Linked DNA regions of Homo sapiens: region 2 is linked to region 1. The links are contacts of gene promoters, found by promoter capture Hi-C in blood cells and fetal thymus (Javierre and others, 2016). All regions are on one chromosome and are shown on one strand. Each heading gives the region's core, a stretch centred on a gene start or on the middle of the fragment in contact. The rest is flanking DNA. Distances are from core to core; before and after follow the strand shown. Region 1 holds the start of IGFBP2 (insulin like growth factor binding protein 2). Region 2 overlaps RPL37A (ribosomal protein L37a).

Region 1 (2,700 bases), core at 201-2,700:
TTGCTTCAGGTGGTCCCTCTGCCTGTGCCCTTGCTAACCGCCCATTTCCTCTGGTAGAATTACAAGCTTCAATTTCAGCTCCGACTCACCCAAGAAACTCCCCTTTCCTCAACCACCACATCACCTCTCTACCAAAATATTTCTTTTCTTCAAAGCCTCTGATAAACATTTATTTATTTATTTTTTATCTTACCAAAGTCTTTCCCGATAACTCTTCCCAGCTTGGCGTCTTAAGACCAGGTACTTGCCTTCCTGGAGGCATCTAGGTCACCTTCAGAGCCAGGTGGCCATTGGGTTAACTAGCTGTTGAACTGAATCAAACAGGCTCTGAGCCTTGAAGTCAGAAAGAGCCAGAGTGGAGGGGTCTGGGGGGAAGAGGGGCGCTGAGGTATAGGGAGATGAAACCTGCGGTGGAGGCAGCTTAATGGTCCACCTGTCACCCAAGGAATCTCTCTGACAGGGGTCTTTGTTAGGGTCACACCCCAGGAGATGGTTGATTATGGCTGAGTCCAGCCTGGAATGATGGGGGTTGGGGGCAGCTTGGGTAGATGACTCAGTAAATCAAACAGAACAATGAAAGGAGGTCATGCTTGTCCATCTGCATTATTGAAGACAGCCATAAATGGCCTTACCCCAGAGCGGGTCTGTCACACCTGGAGAGCTGATCTGACCTCTCCAAGACCCCTGCAACTGAGTGTTCTGGGATCTGTCCTGCAACAAGTGCCTCGAGATTTGTAGGTGGGGGCCCAGGGTGCTAAGGGATTATTTTAGCGGGCGGAGAAGGGAGGGGGTCTGCAGACGAAGGGGGCAGGTTTTGCGGGGCACTTAGGGTTCTCATAGGTTGTAGTCACGAGCTCCCAGGTTTGGAAAACTGCAATAGTCACTAAGACCATTCGGGGCTGTTTGGGTCTAGCTTGGTCTAGACGGGTCTGAAACTCCGCAGGACCCACCCAACAAGAAGTCATTGTTCCAAGCCACGTGTCAGTGGTGGGTGATACCCCAGGATGGAAGGAGTTGGTATGAGCCGACTGAAATCTACTTGAAGGTCAAAACGGAGCCTTATGTCTTTTGTGTTCCCCAGCGGTTAGCCCAGTGCCGGCCACAGGGGAAGCGCGCAAACGAAGTCCTCGCGAACTGAACTGAGAGCAGACAAAAGCACGCGCTCTTCTCCACCGCCACGCCGGTCCTACCCAAACCCGCGAGTTATCCGTATTCTCCTTCAGGAGTCATAGTCAGGCCAGAAGAGTGCGGAGGGACGGGGCCCGGGAAGAGCAGGGAACCCCCAGAGCCCGCAGCCAACGCGGAGGTGGGCGAGCGGGCGTGCGCGCACTCACTTGCCGGCGCGAGGGAGTGTCGGGGGGGAAGGGAGTGGTCTCCAAAAGGGGGAGGGGAGAAGGCAGGGGGCGGGGAGAAGCCGGCCCTTTAGGACCCGGCTGCGGCGGCGAGGGAGGAGGAAGAAGCGGAGGAGGCGGCTCCCGCGCTCGCAGGGCCGTGCCACCTGCCCGCCCGCCCGCTCGCTCGCTCGCCCGCCGCGCCGCGCTGCCGACCGCCAGCATGCTGCCGAGAGTGGGCTGCCCCGCGCTGCCGCTGCCGCCGCCGCCGCTGCTGCCGCTGCTGCTGCTGCTACTGGGCGCGAGTGGCGGCGGCGGCGGGGCGCGCGCGGAGGTGCTGTTCCGCTGCCCGCCCTGCACACCCGAGCGCCTGGCCGCCTGCGGGCCCCCGCCGGTTGCGCCGCCCGCCGCGGTGGCCGCAGTGGCCGGAGGCGCCCGCATGCCATGCGCGGAGCTCGTCCGGGAGCCGGGCTGCGGCTGCTGCTCGGTGTGCGCCCGGCTGGAGGGCGAGGCGTGCGGCGTCTACACCCCGCGCTGCGGCCAGGGGCTGCGCTGCTATCCCCACCCGGGCTCCGAGCTGCCCCTGCAGGCGCTGGTCATGGGCGAGGGCACTTGTGAGAAGCGCCGGGACGCCGAGTATGGCGCCAGCCCGGAGCAGGTTGCAGGTAACGCGGTCTGGAACAAGTAGTTGGGAGAAACTTGGAGGGCAGCGGAGAAGCCCGACGGGCGGCTGGACCTTACGGACGGTTTTAGGGGCGGCAGAGCCGAGACCTTGGACCAAATCAAGGGGGACTGTTGCTAGCGGGACGCGGAAGTCAGGCCCGGGGAGGGGAACTGGAGTTAGAGCAAGTGGAAGAGCCCTGGCGACTCATTTGGTGGGGATGAATGGGGAGAGGAAAGGCATCCCTGCTGCCATAGTTTTACCCGCGTGGAACGGACCCAGACTTCTATTCTGGAGGAGGGATTTGCTGAGAAGGGGGCCGGTGGTCAGATCCATGGGAGTAGGAACTCGAATCTTATTTGGGGCACTGCTTGAGGACCCAAGGGTCCTGGTGGGATCGCTGCTGGGAGGCGGAGGCTGCGGGGTGCCAGTGACACCAGGAACCTTGGAAGAGGAGAGGGAGCTAGGAGGAGGCACCGGCGTCCCAAGGGGCCCTTCCTTCTACTGGGGTTGTGAGTTGGAAAGAAAGGACTTGGTACTTTGTAGGATGAGTCGCTTAGGAGAAAAATGAAAACCACCACTACTATTTCTCCATAGGGAACGAGCAGGGCTCTTGCTACCACGTTGAATGGAAAAATAAAAGGGAGGCATTTGGTAGGCGAGGGGTCTCCTAGCAGCTGAATCAATGTAACTTAAGCCCGATCGCCG
Region 2 (2,819 bases), core at 320-2,819, 130 kb before region 1:
AAAAGCAACTCTGGTTGAGAAATCAGATGCATGAGATTGTATGTCTAATTCTGCAAGATCCTGAAGGCATGGCTCTTAAAGGATGCCATCATGTAGTTTAGAAGCCACTAATTTCCGAGGAGTAATCTAATGTTGGTTAGATCTTTGGATTGACTGCAGCAAAGTATTGGTAGAGCAGTCTATCTCAGTATAATTCTTTCTAGGAAAATTTGGGAAGCGACTTTAACACAAAAACGAGGCAGATTTACTTATTTGCCATTTTCTATGTTAACATGCTTAATTATGTTGGAAACTGAATCTTTCTTTCCAGTACCACTTCCGCTGTCACGGTAAAGTCCGCCATCAGAAGACTGAAGGAGTTGAAAGACCAGTAGACGCTCCTCTACTCTTTGAGACATCACTGGCCTATAATAAATGGGTTAATTTATGTAACAAAATTGCCTTGGCTTGTTAACTTTATTAGACATTCTGATGTTTGCATTGTGTAAATACTGTTGTATTGGAAAAGCATGCCAAGATGGATTATTGTAATTCAGTGTCTTTTTTAGTAGTCAAATGGTAAAATGCAGCATAAGAATATAAGTCTTCCAAGTTAGATATGAGTGTTAGCTTTTTATAAGTCTGCTCCTGCCAGTTTGACTTTGAGATACATTGGAGCCAACTGTAAACTTTAGTTTTTAAATTACAGTTAGTTTTTTTGTTTGTTTTTGAGGCGGAGTCTCTGTTACCCAGGCTGGAGTGCAGTATACCAGTCTTGGCCCACTTCAACCTCCACTTCTTAGGTTCAAGCGATTCTCCTGCCTCAGCCTCCTGAGTAGCTGGGATTACAGGCACGCACCACCATACCTGGCTAATTTTTGTATTTTGAGTAGAGATGGAGTTTTCACCACATTGGCCAGGCTGTTCTTGAACTGACCTCAAGCGATCCACCTGCCTTGGCCTTCCAGAGTGCTGGGATTACAGGTGTGAGCCACCACGCCCAGCCTTGCATTTAATATTTTTATAATGTGTCTAGGCTGGGTGCGGTGACTCACGCCTGAAATCCCAGCACTTTGGGTGGCTGAGGCAGGTGGATTACTTGAGGCCAGGAGATTGAGACCAGTGTGGCCAACATAGCAAAAACCCGTCTCGACGAAAAATACAAAAAATAGCTTGGTATGGTGGCACATGCCTGTAATCCCAGCTACTTTGGAGGCTCAGGCACAAGAATCACTTGAACCTACGAGGCGGAGGTTGCAGTGGGCCAGGATCGTGCCACTGCACTTTATTTAGCCAGGACAACACTCTGTCTCCAAAAAAAAGTTTCTGAAGGTAAAAGATATACTAAAGGATATACATATACTGCCTCTTCTATGATGTTTCATTTGACCTACACCATCAGCATCTTCAGGAAACAGTATGAAACTAATTTCACATTAAATGTTGCAAACGTCTGCAATTCTCCAGTTTTTAGTTTGCACGTAAGGATTCGTAGGATTGATTTCAGATTGACAGATGGTTGTAGTAACAAAAAAATGAATTGCCTTGGAGAATTCGAGTTATTTTAGGCCTGCCTTTGACACTTTTATGCACTTAATTCACTGCCAATTTAGTCTAACTCCTCAACCATCTGTGGTATGGACTTCTCAGTCCTCCTAATTGGTATGTCTTTTATCTATCCCAGAGTCAGTAGTCCTTTAAGGATGCAAATTTAATTCGATAAGAATGTGGATTTACTTCATCTTTAGGACAGAGTAAAAACCTTTATTTCACTTGGTCTGACCCCTATCTTCTATAACTTGTTTTTTTGCTCATTACTGGCCTTTGCACGGATGTCTCCCTTCACCTGTACCTCCTGCATTGCCTCTGGCAGAAACATCGCTACCCCAGGAGAATACTTCACTGGGTCAGGCATTTGCTAGATCCATAGCAGTAACTCATCTGTGGATCTCATTTGTGTCACAAAATGGTACTCCTACTGATTTTGTAATGTGAAGCAAGTACTGTGGGTCAGTAGGGGTAGGACCAGGAGTGACAAGTCAGGATTTTCAGGCTTCATAGGAATGACACAGCTCTCCAGGTGAATCTCCTGGAGAATTCTCCATAGGATCTCCAGGTGAGTGACCAGGATTTCATGTAAGCATAGGGAATTGAATGAGCATTAGATGGTCTAATGCTGCGGTTAAGAACACCAACTTAGCCAAACTGCCTAGATAGTTGGGTGACTTGGGTTAAGTGACTTAACCTCTCTGCTTCAGTTTCCTGTATAATTCTTGGTAGTAGAATGGAGTATATGCTGGGTGTTTGGATTATTAATTTGGAGTCTTACAAAGCTGCTATGTTACATGATTAGGCATGGAAAACTTCGGTTTTTATAATCAGTGAAGTACTGCTTTTTGTTTGTTTTCTGAGAGAGTGTCTGTCACCCAGGCTGAAGTGCAGTGGCATGATCTCAGTTCACTGCAGCCTCTACCTCCCGGGTTCAAGCAGTTCTCGTGCCTCAGCCTCCGAAGTAGCTGGGATTACAGGCTTATGCCACAAAGCTCAGCTAGTTTTTGTATTTTTTATTTTTAGTAGAGATGGGCTTTCGCCATGTTGACCAGGCTGGTCTCAAACTCCCAGGCTCAACTGATAACGTCTGCCTTGGCCTCCCAAAGTGCTGGGATTCTGTAAGCCACCTCACCCAGCCATGTATTGCTTTTTTATGACAGTTAAAAGAGGAAAGGGCGGGGGACAGTTTACAGACCAGTGAAAGTGCTGAGATAAATATTTTTATACCTAAGGAAATAGTGATTTTCCCAAGATGATAGGGAGGCAGGTGATGTAGATAGGGCTGAAGA

What was found. The method cuts DNA at HindIII sites, captures the fragments that hold promoters and counts their contacts. A CHiCAGO score of 5 or more calls a contact.
Region 2: a fragment that was not itself captured here is called in contact with the fragment with the promoter of IGFBP2 in region 1 in 1 of 17 cell types (fetal thymus); the score reaches 5.2 in fetal thymus.

The regions. Positions count from the first base shown.
Region 1 is chr2:216,631,970-216,634,669 of GRCh38, forward strand. It overlaps IGFBP2 (insulin like growth factor binding protein 2), which reads left to right and starts at 1,451. Exons shown (of 4, transcript NM_000597.3): 1 at 1,451-1,996. The coding sequence starts at 1,555. The HindIII fragment of the contact is 7,523 bases long and covers 65-2,700 here.
Region 2 is chr2:216,501,031-216,503,849 of GRCh38, forward strand. It overlaps RPL37A (ribosomal protein L37a), which reads left to right. Exons shown (of 4, transcript NM_000998.5): 4 at 311-2,819. The coding sequence ends at 374. Among named protein-coding and RNA genes, the nearest start is that of RPL37A, 3.6 kb to the left of the region's middle. The HindIII fragment of the contact is 3,211 bases long and covers 1-2,819 here.